Linked DNA regions of Homo sapiens: regions 2, 3, 4 and 5 are each linked to region 1. Evidence: promoter capture Hi-C in 16 types of primary human blood cells and fetal thymus (Javierre and others, 2016). All regions are on one chromosome and are shown on one strand. Each heading gives the region's core, a stretch centred on a gene start or on the middle of the fragment in contact. The rest is flanking DNA. Distances are from core to core; before and after follow the strand shown. Region 1 holds the start of PASK (PAS domain containing serine/threonine kinase). Region 2 holds the start of MAB21L4 (mab-21 like 4). Region 3 overlaps SEPTIN2 (septin 2). Region 4 holds the start of UICLM (up-regulated in colorectal cancer liver metastasis). Region 5 holds the start of SNED1 (sushi, nidogen and EGF like domains 1).

What was found. The method cuts DNA at HindIII sites, captures the fragments that hold promoters and counts their contacts. A CHiCAGO score of 5 or more calls a contact.
Region 2: a contact is called between the fragment with the promoter of MAB21L4 here and the fragment with the promoter of PASK in region 1, in 8 of 17 cell types (naive CD8 T cells, total B cells, non-activated CD4 T cells and 5 more). The highest score is 9.7, in naive CD8 T cells.
Region 3: a contact is called between a fragment that was not itself captured here and the fragment with the promoter of PASK in region 1, in 1 of 17 cell types (neutrophils). The highest score is 5.2, in neutrophils.
Region 4: the fragment with the promoter of UICLM here is called in contact with the fragment with the promoter of PASK in region 1 in 4 of 17 cell types (naive B cells, total B cells, naive CD4 T cells and 1 more); the score reaches 8.4 in naive B cells.
Region 5: the fragment with the promoter of SNED1 here is called in contact with the fragment with the promoter of PASK in region 1 in 2 of 17 cell types (naive CD4 T cells and non-activated CD4 T cells); the score reaches 6.2 in naive CD4 T cells.

The regions. Positions count from the first base shown.
Region 1 is chr2:241,148,090-241,150,860 of GRCh38, forward strand. It overlaps PASK (PAS domain containing serine/threonine kinase), which reads right to left and starts at 1,383. Exons shown (of 18, transcript NM_015148.4): 1 at 1,325-1,383. PPP1R7 (protein phosphatase 1 regulatory subunit 7) reads left to right here and starts at 2,378. Exons shown (of 10, transcript NM_002712.3): 1 at 2,378-2,458. The coding sequence starts at 2,407. RefSeq lists enhancers at 337-496, 2,010-2,169 and silencers at 750-799, 850-909, 970-1,329, 2,460-2,771. The HindIII fragment of the contact is 12,026 bases long and covers 1-2,771 here.
Region 2 is chr2:240,894,743-240,897,513 of GRCh38, forward strand. MAB21L4 (mab-21 like 4) reads right to left here and starts at 1,414. Exons shown (of 5, transcript NM_001085437.3): 1 at 742-1,414. The coding sequence starts at 1,255. RefSeq lists enhancers at 42-677, 1,950-2,585. The HindIII fragment of the contact is 9,523 bases long and covers 1-2,771 here.
Region 3 is chr2:241,347,729-241,350,499 of GRCh38, forward strand. It overlaps SEPTIN2 (septin 2), which reads left to right. Exons shown (of 13, transcript NM_004404.5): 11 at 406-463; 12 at 2,345-2,475. The coding sequence ends at 2,446. Among named protein-coding and RNA genes, the nearest start is that of FARP2, 7.2 kb to the right of the region's middle. The HindIII fragment of the contact is 2,849 bases long and covers 1-2,750 here.
Region 4 is chr2:240,966,032-240,968,802 of GRCh38, forward strand. It overlaps UICLM (up-regulated in colorectal cancer liver metastasis), which reads right to left and starts at 1,420. Exons shown (of 9, transcript NR_033841.1): 1 at 1,296-1,420. It overlaps CROCC2 (ciliary rootlet coiled-coil, rootletin family member 2), which reads left to right. Exons shown (of 32, transcript NM_001351305.2): 25 at 194-378; 26 at 1,314-1,434; 27 at 2,098-2,231. The HindIII fragment of the contact is 9,726 bases long and covers 1-1,516 here.
Region 5 is chr2:240,997,248-241,000,018 of GRCh38, forward strand. It overlaps SNED1 (sushi, nidogen and EGF like domains 1), which reads left to right and starts at 1,371. Exons shown (of 32, transcript NM_001080437.3): 1 at 1,371-1,803. The coding sequence starts at 1,591. RefSeq lists a silencer at 1,003-1,422. The HindIII fragment of the contact is 12,687 bases long and covers 127-2,771 here.

The DNA of each region.
Region 1 (2,771 bases), core at 133-2,632:
TCCAGGCCCAAATTTTTAAAATTGTCCTTTGTATCCACTGTGAGCTGCAGACACGGGAACCCAAACCCAGCAGACAGCACCTAATGGTGCCACCGAGTAACCATATTCCCATTGCTAGTTTTGATTCCAGAAGACACAAGTGACCCCACCTCAGACCAAACAGAAGCAAGGACAACTTTGCAGGGAGCATCTCGGCGAACTTCTAGAAGCAACTGTCCCCCTCCCACCAGAACATAAGCTAAGAAGCAAACAGCTCCCATTGCTGTCAGCACAGCTGTACAACAAAAAGGAGAACCAGTTTCAGGATGAGGCCAACAAGGTGAACAGTGCAGTAGAACACAGCAAGGATGTCAGTCCTGGAGGAGGCACCTGCAGAGCCGGGCCCTACCAAGCAGAGTGAAGAAGTCTTTCAGAGGCAAAGCCTCCCAGAGAGGAGTTCAGTACCCAGAAGAGTAGGTGGACGTGGGCCTGGAAGGGCCAAGCATGAGCCCAGAGCCTCCTATGCCTGCCCAAAGTCTTAATTTTATCCCCAAAATGAACTTTTAAGGATTCAATGCTTAGGAGTAACATGGCCAGATATGCATTTTACAAAGATTACTCCAGGGACCATGTCGGTGCAAGGCTGGAAAGCAGGAGAAAGGCTACAGTAATCCAGGCAAGAAATTATAAAGTCTTAAATTAAGGTAGCAGCAGAAAGATGAAGAGAGGGAACCCCTAAGAGAAAAATGGACATCGAATGGTACTGAGATGCGGAAGGTAAGGACGAGAAAGGCCTCAAGACGGCAGCGCAGGCCCCTGCCGTACTCTGGGAAAGAAAAATTAGTGAAAAAATTAAGGCTCAAGTCCAGGTCTTTGCTGTAACCACGAGCGCCGGCGGCGCGCGCCCCCGACCCCGCGGCGCCGGCTGAGCCCGCAGGGACCCACACGCCCAGTGCAGGAGGCTGGCGGGATCCGGGCTGGTTCTCCTGGAGCTCGCCCCGCAGGGCCGGCTGCGGTGAAGAGAGCGCAGGGTCCCGAGGCGACCCGAGGCGCGGGGCCTCGGCGCCCACCGGGCAGGCTACACTGAAGGGCACCCCGAAGACGCTGGGGGCGCGGGGCCCAGGGCCAACGGCCGCAACCCCGCCGCGATTTGGGCACGGAGAGGACGCGGGCTCGGCGGTGCGCGAAGGGCGACGGGCGCAGGGGCGGGAGACCCGGGGTCGGGCTGGTCTAAGAGTCGGGCGGCGGATCCTCCTGGGCCAGGGGCGCGGAGCCGCGCAGGCCCCACAGCCGCCCTGGGGAGATGGCGGAGCCCGGCCCGCTCTCCCGAGCGCAGGTATCTCACCTGGATCAGGCGAGGGTCACGCCAAGCCGGCTACACACCACGGAAAGGAGCCCTTCCGCGCTTTTATCCCACCGACCAATCGCACAGCGACTAGCACCGATTGACAAGCTCCACGGACCAGCCACTTGCGCGTATGGGCGGGACTAAGCTAGCCAGAGTCTAGAAGCCCGCGCTAAGGGTTGCTAGGGACGCACCAAACACCCCTACGGCGCTTCGGAGGAGCCAAAGGAATAATGGGCGCCTCCGCCCCCGGGCCGGGCAGATGCGGTTTCCTCCCGACTCGCGATCAAAATGGGTGAGTAGCGCAGAGCTCGCCTCTTGGAGGCCTCTTTCTGAAGGCGGAGGACGCGGGGCGGCTCGTTCATGGGCCGGGTGGCTCCGCAGGGTAGACGAAGGCTGCAGCGTCCGCACTGGGCTGGGAACGACTTGCAAGGGGAGCCCAGCTGGCGCCCCGGAGCCAGCCAGCTGGCTAGCGGCCCCACCAGCGCAAGTGCCCCGCACCTGCCCGCCTGCTCCGAGCGTCAAGAGAAGGCGGCATTTCGCATGGGTAAAATCCGCGCGGGGACGCCGGGAGAATGTTGTTGCTCTTGCCGTTCGGCCCATTGTACAGACGCAGCCAGCGAGGCTCGCAGAGGTCAGGGATGCACGTAGGACTGGCCCGCACCTTGCAGCCACGGAAAGATCCGCCTGGCCCGCGGCCCCTCCACGCCTCCGAGGTCGAGACAGTGACATAAGTCAACTCTCAAGCCCAGGGCGTCTCTCCACTCTGCCTAGACGTCCACTCCGTCTGCCTGCAGCTACGGCTCTGTGCGTCCCGCTTCGACTCCCTCTGCTTTCCTTCCCAGCTTCTCGCCTCCAGACTGTTCCGGCTCCGCCGCCTGAAATTACCTGCTCTGGGGGAGGCGCGGCGCGCGGCCTCATGACGGAACTACAACTCCCATGAGGCGCTGGGCCCACGCAGGCGCGGCGCGGCTGAAGTCGCCGCGCCGGAATCCCATTGGCAGGGCCGGCTCTGAGGCGGGAGCCCTGATTGGCTGAGGGGTCTGAGGCGACAGATTCCGGAAAGGGGAAGAGCAGCCAACATGGCGGCGGAACGCGGCGCGGGGCAGCAACAGTCGCAGGAGATGATGGAGGGTGAGCGGCCCCTGCGGGCGGCGGCCCAAGGGCCCAGCGGGCGGGGGGAGCTGCGGGCTGGAACTGCTCCGTGCCTGAGAGAAACTCCACGTCCTGCCTCTGGCCGCCGCCGCGCGGCCCCCTGACAGCTGACAGCCGGACCCGGGGGAGCGGGGGAGGCGCTGGACCTCGGGGGAGCCCCGGCCCGGGGGCGGCAGCGGCCGGGAAGGACCCAGAGCTAGGGGGAGAGCGGCGGCGCGAGGCCAGGCCGGGGGTGGGGCTGAATGGGACGCGGTGGCTCCATTCAGTCCAGTTGGAGCCTCGCCCCGAGCCT
Region 2 (2,771 bases), core at 164-2,663, 250 kb before region 1:
AGCCAAGATCGTGCCATTGCACTCCAGCCTGGGTGACAGAGTGAGACTCAGTCTCACAAACAAACAAACAAAAGGCCCCAGAGGAGAGACTGAGGCCAGCCCCTGGTCCACGCAGAAGCCCAGCCTCAGAGCCCACTTGGGGCTCAAGACACCAATAGACAACTCAGCCATAAGCTGATAAGACACGGGCACACACCTGCACACGCATTCACACCCCTGCACTCACGCGCACGCAGGCAGGCACACACACACCCCTCCCACCTGGTGCAACATCATCAGACACTGGAAGTGGGCACGGGATGGCCTCGGGGAGCCTCGAGGTCACAGGCTGTGACTGGCAAGAGAGCCGCCTGCCCAGAGCCGTGTGAGGGACCCTCCTGCAAGGCCACCAGTGAAGCAGCTGCCCCAGACTCCAGCCACTGGACGACTGGCAGCCGTGGAACCCCCGTGCAAACACACACGACACGGAACACGTCATCTGTCTTGTTACAGGCATTTGGAGCTGGAAGACCTAAGTGAGGTCTCCCGACTTCTGTGCCCCAACACACTGTTCACACTTGCACAGTGTCACACACGTGCACACATGCCTGTGCGTGCAGTCACACACAGAAGACAGTCGCCACCCTGTGTGCACGTACATGGCAATCACACACATGTGCACTCACACACTTGCACACAGACACCCACACAGCAGCCCCTCGGTACACGCAGATACGCGTGCAGAGTGGGCTGTGCCTGTACCTGGTGCGATGAGACTGTGGTGCTTGCAGTGTACGATGGCTGCTACCAGCAGGTCCTTGAGGACACACAGGACCTTGCTGGGCACAATGTGTCCACGGCACTTGGCGTCACCCTCCGAGGAGGCAGTGAAGGTATCCTCGGTGGTCCACCGCTCCAGGCCAGCCCCTTCCCTGGGCACACCCAGGTGGCATAATTCAAGGCCATCCTCCGGCTGGGTGGCCTCTGGTTCCTCAATCAGTAGAGCCTCGGCATCCACCCACAGGGGCACCTCCATGTCCATTGGGTCCTCAGAGGAGCGCAGGGCGAACTGGAAGGCCTCCAGGCCACGGGAGTAGTCCACGATGAAGCGGGGGTCCAGGGCATGCACGCGCTCCAGCACCGTGAGCAGCACGTTCTCTGCGCGCTGGAAGTCCTGGGCACGCGGCGCCTCCCGGGACCGGATGGCCTGCAGGTAGTGGTGCCACAGGGGCACCTGCACGGCCATGGCTGAGGTGGGGAGAGCAGGGGCAGGCATCCCTTCAACAGTGGCAGGTGAGGGCCAGTGGCCCCTGAGGAGGACTCCGCAGGCCAGCTGTGCAGATGGGCTGTGAGGAGGCACCTGCCCAGGTGAGCAGCAGGTCTGCAGGTGGGGCCTCAGCTCCCACACAGCAGAATTCCAGAGTGACAGCACAGTGTGGCAGGTGAAATAGCTGAACTATTTAAGGCCTTTGAAGTGGGGGTGAGTCAGTCCCCAGCAATTGGGAATGTCACAGGGGCCATGCAGGGCAGGCGGGGGCTGGGTTTGGTTACCACCCTCCTCCCTCCCTTCAGAAGAGCTCTCTCATCTTAGGCCCAAGGCACGGCCCCTGTCCCAGCCAGGCTTGGGGTCCCTGGAGAAATATTGCCGCTGGACTGTGCCGTCCCTGGGATGGGAGCCTCTGTGTGTTGCTGATGGGCCTCCTTCCACCCTCCTCCCCACAGCCCAGGGGCCGGGTATCTGGATCAGGCCCCCCTGCCCCAGCCTCCCTGCCAGGTTGGAGGGAACACAAGGCACCCCGTGGCTCAGTGAGGAAGGGGAGGCAGGGCGGTGGCTGCCCAGACCCCGCTGTGGGGGAGCCCCCGACTCTCTAAGGCTGCCTGGAAGGCTGGGAACCTGGAGGCTGCGTCTCTGCAATGTTCCCCTCAGACACCTGTGCCCGGCTTACAGGCTGCAGTCCTGGCATGGCTCCTGCCTCTGCCCCAGCTGTGCATCCAGCCATCTGGGCCCTGGACCCCTGGGCTACCAGTCCCCACCCCACCCCACCCCACCCTGCCCAGCCTCCAACCTGAGAGGAGCTGGCACCCACCTAGCCTGGGAGCTGGAGCTCGTCTGGTTCTGGAGAAAAGCAGTCTCCGTGGCTCCACCTCACCCAGGTGGAGAAACTCGCCCCACCATCCCCCTCCAGCACCTGCACCAGGTACCCTGCCAGCCCCGCCCCCCTCCCCTGCTCAGGGCCGTGCAAGTCCCAACCAGCAGGGAGCCGCCCCATCGACCCTTGGCCCTGCCAGCTGGCCGAGTGCATCGGGTGCTCAGCCACAGGGGTGTCTGCAAACAGTGAACATGGAGATGGCCCCACAGGGGCGTCGTGGAGATGCTGCCCCTGTAGCCACCGCACGTGGGCCTCTCACCCCCCGGGGAGCTGCATCTGAGTCAGAGCTGTGGGCAGAACCAGGATCCCAGGAGGGGTGGGGCAGGGGGCAACAGCCACTCACTTCCTGGTGCTTGGAAGCCCCTATGAGGGGCTGCAGCCCAGTGAGCGGGTCTCTGCTTCCATGCCTCCCAGGACAGGGAGCTCACCACCTCACAGGGTAGCCCACGGTCAAGCGAGAGACAGATATCCCTCCTCCAAGCTGGCCCACTCCTGTTCCCTGGAGTTGCTTAGAGCACGTGTCCCCCTCCCCGAGGGCAGCCATTCAGGTTCAAGGCCCCATTTGTCCTGGGCCCTCACCCACGGCCTGCCTAGGTCCCCACACACAGCCGTGTGCCACACTCCTCCATCTCCACAGGACTC
Region 3 (2,771 bases), core at 76-2,575, 200 kb after region 1:
AAAAATGATAGGCTGGGCGTGGTGGCTCATGCCTGTATTCCCAGCACTTTGGGAGGCCAAGGTGGGCGGATCACTTGAGGTTCAACACCAGCCTGGCCAACGTGGCAAAACCCCATCTCTACTAAACACAAAAAAAATTAGCTGGGCGTGGTAGCACGTGCCTGTAATGCCAGTTACCCAGGAGGCTAAGGTGGGAGAATTGCTTGAACCTAGGAGGTGGAGGTTGCAGTGAGCCAAGATCATGCCACTACACTCCAGCCCGTGCGACAGAGTGAGACACCATCTCAATATAAAAAGAGAAATGATAAATACATGTCATTTTAAATTTTAAAGTAGAATTTTTTGGGGGGGTAGCAAATAACTATTTGTTGCAGTGTTATGATTCTGATTTCTTTCGATTCTTAGGAAAGTGGAGAATGAGGACATGAATAAAGACCAGATCTTGCTGGAAAAAGAAGCTGAGGTAAGTAGGAAAGTACTATTGGTTGGTTGGTTGGTTGGTTGTTTTGTTTGTTTTGAGACAGAGTTTTGCACCATTGCCCAGGCTGGAGTGCAGTGGCGTGATCTCGGCTCACTGCAACCTCTGCCTCCCGGGTTCAAGTGATTCTCCTGCCTCAGCCTCCCGAGTAGCTGGGACTACAGGTGCCCGCCACCATGCCTGGCTAGTTGTTTTTGTATTTTTAGTAGAGACGGGGTTTCATCATGTTGGCCAGGCTGGTCTCGAACTCCTAACCTCAGGTGATCTGCCCACCTTGGCCTCCCAAAGTGCTGGGATTACAGGTGTGAGCCACCGTGCCCAGCCAAAAAGTACTATTCTTGTGACTGAAGGTGTTTTGTTTACATCCGTAGATATCATTGGTAATTAACTTAAAGTTTATAGTTTTTTTTTTAATTTGTTGAGGAGGATACATATAACTACTTTATTACTATATATACACATCTATATATAATAATAAACATGGATATTTACATAGCATACATGATGCTTCATATATTTAGCTGAAAGACTTTGGAGACAATTTAGTAATGTCACTGATATTTGTAAGTAGATCATAAATATGGAAATATGCTCTGTTGTAAAGGTGGCATTCAGATCTGCTGGAGTTTTGGAAGGCAAACACATTATTCAGTAAACAATAGGATCATAATGGGCTAGCCTTTTGGAAACAAAAAGAAAATACTTCTTTGGTCAAATTAATTCAATATTGATCAAATATTTAAATGTTAAAAATAACCACAAAGTCACCTGAAGAAAATTTAAATGTTTTATAATACTTTCCTGGAGGCATTTCTGAACACATACAAATCATAATGATAAGGATAAAGATGAATTAACATTTACTATTTTTGGCCAGGCACTGTGGGTTACACTTATAGTCCCAGCACTTTAGGAGGCCAAGGTGGGAGAATCACTTCATGCCAGGAGTTTAAGACCAGCTAGGGCAACAGAGTGAGACCCCCCTCGTTCTCTAGAAAAAAATTAAAAAATAATTAGCCATGCATGTCGGCATGCACCTGTAGTCCCAGCTACTCGGGAGGCTGAGGCAGAAGGATCCCCTGAGCCCAGGAGTTCAAGGATGCAGTGAGCTATGATTGTGCCACTGCAGTCTAGCCTAGGTGAAAGAGCAAGATCCCATCCCTTTAAAAAAAAAAAAATATATATATATGTATATGTATGTATATATATTATTTTTATTGTGAGGCCTTCATTGCCCTCCAGAAAAGCTGATTCATTCCCATTCCCCTTTACTTTGCATTTCTCACTGTCATCAGTCTCTTTCCCTCCTTTTAGGTTAGAAAACTTCTCATATTGGCCGGGCGCGGTGGCTCACGCTTGTAATCCCAGCACTTTGGGAGGCGGAGGCGGGTGGATCACGAGGTCAGGAGTTTGAGACCAGCCTGACCAATGTGGTGAAACCCCGTCTCTACTGAAAATACAAAAATCAGCTGGGCGTGGTGGTGTGTGCCTGTAATCCCAGCTACTCAGGAGGCTGAGGCAGGAGAATCGCTTGAACCCGGGAGGCGGAGGTAGCAGTGAGCCGAGATTGCGCCACTGCACTCCAGCCTAGGAGACAGAGTGAGACTCTGTCTTAAGAAAATTTATCATATTGTCTTATCTTTCTTTGGTTATTGTTTCTGTTTGGCTTGCATATTCGTATCATTTACTTGATTTTCTCTTTAGCTGTTGCTTTTTTTATTGATTGGTAAAAAGTCTTTATGTAATAACTCCTGTCATATTTTGGGAAGGTGTAGAAGTTGAAATTTTAGGAATCACAGAACACCCAGAAATAATGTTCAAAGACAGCAAACCTTGAAAACCTATAATGTGTGTGTGTGTTCACAGCTCCGCCGCATGCAAGAGATGATTGCAAGGATGCAGGCGCAGATGCAGATGCAGATGCAGGGCGGGGATGGCGATGGCGGGGCTCTCGGGCACCACGTGTAAGGTGATGTGCACATATCAAGAAGTCAGAGGTAGGCCCTGTTGTCCCTTAGCCTGGAAGACAGGCAGTTACTAACATTGTGTCAGCTTAAATATGACAGGTTCCTCCTTAAGCCTCATTAATATTTTGCATTTTGAAGTAACTCCATCACTAATCTTAAACAAGGAGAGATTGCTCCTGAAAAACAGAAGCCACTACTTTGCCACCTACTTTCTAGTAAAGATTTTTCATATTTTTGTCTCTTCTTTTTTTTTTAAATAATTTCAACTTTTATTTTATTGGGGTACATTTGCAGGTTATTTTCTAAGCTTGCAAATACCAACATTA
Region 4 (2,771 bases), core at 170-2,669, 180 kb before region 1:
AGCTCAGTCCCTGGCCTGGCACCTCTCTTTCAGGCCTCACAACTCACACAGTGAGGGACTCGGACAGGCAATTGTAGGAACCTGTGGCCGTCTCCCCAACCTCCCATGGCTGGGGCAGCAGAGAGGAAAGGGGAAGGGCGTGTATCTGTCACTGTGTTCCTGTCCACGACCCCTCCGCTGTCACCTCCCGCAGGCTCCGACAGCTCCCAGGCTCTCCCTGGGCAACAGGGTACCAGCCCCCCAGCCAGGCCCCACTCGCCCCTCCGATGGCCCTCGCCCACACCCGGAGGCCGCAGCTCAGAGCTCATGGATGTGGCCACCGTGCAGGACATCCTGCGGGACTTTGTGCAGAAGCTCCGGGAAGCCCAGCGGGAGCGGGTAATGGGGGCTGGGGTCCTCCCGCCCACGGCGGCACCCCCCGGGGGTCTCTGGGAAGAACACCTGCTGTCCATCCATCCGCGCGTCCCTGGGTCTGAGGGTCAGTGTCCAGGCCGTCCTGTTTGTTGTGATAAACACCAGCACCACCATGGCCCCCAAGCCCAAGTGCCTTGGGTGGCTGGAGGCCGCCCCCTTCCTTATACCAGGCTGAAAAGCCCCTGGAGCCAGGCCCTGCTGTGACACCCACCAGGGCCCAGGGTAGGGCATTCTGCAACTCATGCCACCCCTGAAGAGCTGCCGGGGCTGGGCAACTGCAGGACAGAGCCAGCAAGCTCCCCTCAATGCTCCCAAAGACCCCTCCGGTGGGGCCAAGCTCCCCAGTGGCTGCTCCTGGCTTCAGGGCTCCCACAGAACCACCCGTGAGCGGCCCCCTCCCACCTCGCTGGATGACTCCAGTGGGCAGGACTGTGGGAAAGACAGAGGCAGGCCCTGAGCCCTGGCCAGGGTCCTCTGTGCACACTCCTTCCCTTCGGGCCCACCCTCCCACCGCTGCCAGCCCCAGGGGGCAGGGTCCCGTCTGCACTCAGCCCCAAGTCCCGCCAGGGGCAGCCCCTACCGGTCCCCCTGACCACAGGCTGTGGGCCGCCACCTGCCAGCTCTCCCACACCACACCTGTGCTTGAAACCTGGACCCTTTAGGCCGAGTCTCACTGGGCGCCTCCACCTCCCCAGGCCTGCAGGTCAGCGCAGCTTCCCAGTGTGATCACCTTCCCCGCACCTTCCCCGAGCCCACGGCCCACACCACCCACTGCCCTGCCCTGCACACCTGCAGGCCAGACCGTGAGCGGCCCCAGCTGGCCCCGACCCTCTAGCAGACACCTTGGCCCTCCACCCGCCCATTGGACTGCCCCCGCTGACCTCAGTCCTTCTGCCCAGGATGACTCCCGCATCCAGATGGCGACCCTGAGCAGCCGGCTGAGCGAGGCAGAGTGCAGGTGTGCCCGGGCCCAGAGCCGCGTGGGGCAGCTGCAGAAAGCCCTGGCTGAGGCGGAAGAAGGTGACCTCCCTTGCCCTGCCCCGCCCACCCTGGGAGTGGCTGTGAGAGTGGCACCACCATGTCCCCACTGCTGCCGGCTATAAGCTTTCAGTCCCTGGGGCAGCTCGGTGGGAAGGGAGCCTGGGGGCAACACCCAAACCACCAGGCCTGGCGAGGCTGGGTCAGCGCTTGGCATCGGAGTTCTCAGCAGCGACTTCCCCAGCACAGAGGAGTGACGTCCACAGGCCCATCAGGGCCCTCCCGATCCGGCCCCCAGCATCCTCTGCCCCCCTGCCCCACCCTGGCCTCCTGCAGTTCCCACTGGGGGCCTTTGCCCTGGCTGTGCCCTCTGCCTGGCACCCTCTCCCCCAGACAGCCACACGGCTCTCCCCGGGCAGGCCCTGCCCCTCGTCACCCCCTCAGAGAGGCCCCTTCCTTCTGCCCCCCACTGCCTCACACTCACGAGTTTCTCTGCTTATTGCCCCTCAATTAAAGGAAAGAGGCAGGAGGGAAGGATGGGTGGGAAGCCGGGACCCTGGGGCAGCCCCAGGACCCTTGAGCTGCAAGGATGGACCCCCACCTCCACGTGGGAGCCAGTCACTCAAGTCCACAGAGCCCTGCATTGCCTGCCTGTGACCTGGGAGGGGCATGGGGGCCCCTCAAGCCACCCTGCTTGCCCCACAGGCCAGCGCCGGGTGGAGGGCGCGCTGAGCAGCGCCCGGGCAGCACGTGCCCTGCAGAAGGAGGCGCTCCGCAGGCTGGAGTTGGAGCACCTGGCGAGCGTGCGTGCGGCAGGCCAGGAGAAGCGGCGGCTGCAGGTGGGGCAGGCGGCAGGGTGGGTCCCAGGTGGGGCACAAGAACAAGGCCTCTCGGTCACCCTCACACCCTGCAGGGAGGCCACAGGGCCGGGAGGTGGGAGAGAGGGGTCTGCAAGGGCTTCTGTGGGTGTTCGGGGCTGGAGCCAGCCCGGTGGGGCCCTGGGGCAGAGGTGCAGGCTGGGCTGTGGCAGGCGGCTTTGGGGTCATCGGGACTGGGGTCGTCCTTAGCAGAGCTGTCCTTACGGTGGTTCTAGCCCTTGTTTTACAGGTTGGGGAAACTGAGGACTTGGCCCTGGGGGCACAGCGAGTGGGGGGCAGAGCCCCAAGTCTAGGCCCTTTCTTCTTGCTGAGGCCACAGCGGCAGGCATGGGGCGGCCCTGGCCCAGCCTTGGGGCTCTTTATAGGGTCACACTGTCCTGCTCCAAGACCACTTTTCATTCCATGTGGCTCAGACACAGAAGGGGCCTCTCAGGAAGGGCTGAAGTCAGTGTCCCTACATGCCAGGCTTTGTGCTGGGGAGGTGCCCGCTGGGTCTGAGGT
Region 5 (2,771 bases), core at 121-2,620, 150 kb before region 1:
CTCTGAAAGCTGGGACGGTGACCTAAGGGCTAACTGCGGGACAGAGCCCTTCCCCTCCCAGGCCCAGTTTGCCTCTCTGCAAACAGAATTGCCACCCCATGCAGGGTGGGAGAGGCGCCAGGGGCAAGCTTTCAGGAGGTGCCAGTGCAGGGTCAGCTCCTCCTTAACAATTCTGCACCCGGCCCTGACACCAAGTCTAAAGGGTCATGAACCTCTGAGTGAAAACACCAAGTGCAGGATCTGTGAGAACCGGCAACACCCAGTCACACGCAGAGAACCCTCCGCTGCTTCTTAAAAATAACATTGACTGTGCCTGGCTCTCACTGAAAAACAACACGTGCTCACTTGAGATATTTCAGAAGATACAAACGCAAAGACAAACAAAAAACCACCCAGCACCTCAGTGGTAGATGCAGTTACCATCAGCCCGGCCTTTCCTGCTTGTCTTCGAGGGGTGCACTCTTATCTTTGGGGGCCCCAGTGTGGCACGCAGCCAACACCACCCAACACCAGGATCTAAGAGAAGAGACCACGGTGGGCCGGGTGAGTTCCAGGAATCAGACCCTGCCATGGGCCTGGGGACATAGAGGTGGTCCCGGCTGAGGCCCTGAGGAAGGACAGACAGGCAGCCCAGGCCAGCAGCCCAAGAGACAGGGGGCAGGGCTGGCAGGCCACAGGGTGGGGACCCTGAATTCAAATACTGGGACTCAGAGTCCTGCCCCCACCTGCCAAGGCCGGTGTCATGCACGCACTTGCCCCCAGGGCCTGAGTGGGTCAGTCTTCCCCACGGAGGGTTTGCTTTACCCAGGGGTCGCCCCGAGGTCCCGAGCCTCCCAGGAATTTCTCCTGATGCGGCCACGCAGATGCAAACACTTTGTTCCATGCCTCCTAGTCTCCGGCCCGGGCTCTTCCTCACACAGACCCAGGCAGGGAGTGGGCTCCGGGGTTAGTCTGCCCCTGTGGCTGGAAGCCTGGCGTCCCCATGCTCAGGGCTGGGAAGGGGGCAGCACGGAACGGGTTCATTCAGGCACTGCCTGGCCAGGGTCCCCTCCCGCCCCCCGCGTGATGACACGCCTTCAGGGCGGGCCCAGCGTCTCAGGCCTTAGGGACACAGGTCTGTCCCAGGACGGCACTGAGGGCCCAGGCGCCTCCACCAGGGTAGGGACCCAGGGCGGAGCATGGCCCCACCACAGGGCGCGCGCCCGCAGAGCCCTCACCTTGCCTGTGCCCACGCCAGGGGACTGAGCTCCCCGCGCGCCCGCGCCCTCCCACGGGGCCTGGCGCTTTAAGAGACGCCCGATTTGCATGGCCCCGCCCCCCCGAGTGACCGCCGGGCTGGATATTTAAATCGTGGCCCCAGGGGCGGGGCTGGCCCCGAACGCGGTCCCGCCCGGCGCTTTCCTCTGCGGAGCTGCGGCGAGAGCGCGGCCCGGCCGAACGGGCGCGGGACGCGGAGCCCCCGACGGCGCGGCCAGCGGGCGCGCCCGCGCTCCCCGCACCCCGCCTGGCCCTGCCGGCCACCCCCGCGCGCAGCCTAGTCCCCCAGCGCCCTGCTCCGCCAGCGCCCCGTCCCGCCCGCACACCTCCGCGATGCGGCACGGCGTCGCCTGGGCGCTGCTGGTGGCCGCGGCCCTGGGGCTTGGGGCGCGCGGGGTGCGCGGCGCGGTGGCCCTTGCCGACTTCTACCCGTTCGGCGCCGAGCGCGGCGACGCCGTCACCCCCAAGCAGGACGACGGCGGCTCGGGGCTGCGGCCGCTCTCGGTGCCCTTCCCGTTCTTCGGTGCCGAGCACTCCGGACTCTACGTGAGTAACCCCCGGGCTCGCGGGGCGCCCGGGAGGGGAGGGAGCTGCGCCCCGGCCGCTGCCCGCCGGGCCCGGACTCCCGCCGCCGCCGCCAGCCACTTGGCACCGGGGCGGCCCGAGGTGGAATGAGGACAGCGCTTCCTCCTCGGCGGCCAAGGCCGGACAGCGGCCCGCGGGAGAGGCGCGCGGGCGGGGCGGGGGCGGCAGCCGCCGGGCACCGAGGCGGGGGCGAGTGGAGCGCGGCGCCCCGGCCCCTGCCAGACCTGCCGAGCGCGTCTTCCCGGCGCCTGATTCCCAGGGGAGAGCAGGGGTCCTGGTACTGCCCTGGTTTTCACACATGGCAATGTGGCCGTGGGCACGGGCTTCCCGGGCCTCAGTTTCCCAAGTGGGGCGCCGGGCCTGCGAAGGTTGCAGCCCCTCCTTGGGCCATTTCAGCCCCGCCCCCCGTGGACGCCAGTGCGGCCCAGAGCCAGGAGGCTGGACCCCTTGCCCAGGCGCTCAGGGCAGGGCCTGCTTCTTCGCTGACCCTCCTAGGCGGGCTAGCAACAGGCTTGCCCCTCCCTGCCGTCCTCTCCGCAGTCTGGGGGCTGGCCGCTCAGGCTCAGACTCTCCAAACAGGACTCCCAGTGGGACTCCTGGGGCCAGGGACTCATGACAGCAGGCTCAGCTCAGCTGAAGGAACAGGCCCGAGTGCCGGTTCTGTCTCCATGGCTCCCAGAGTGTGACCCCAGGCCAAGCCCTTATGGCAGCCCAGGGAATGAAATGCACCTGGTAACTGCATGGAGCACTCGCCCTGAGTAGGCCACGGTGCACTGGTACCTGGTGGTTCCCTGAAACACCCCAGATCATATCTAGAAAACTGCTGGGCCAGCCTCAAGTAGAGTCCCCTCCAGCTCCGTCACCACGGCCACCTCCACCATCAGCCCTCTCATACCCTCGCCCACCTCCAGCCTCAACCCACTGCCAGC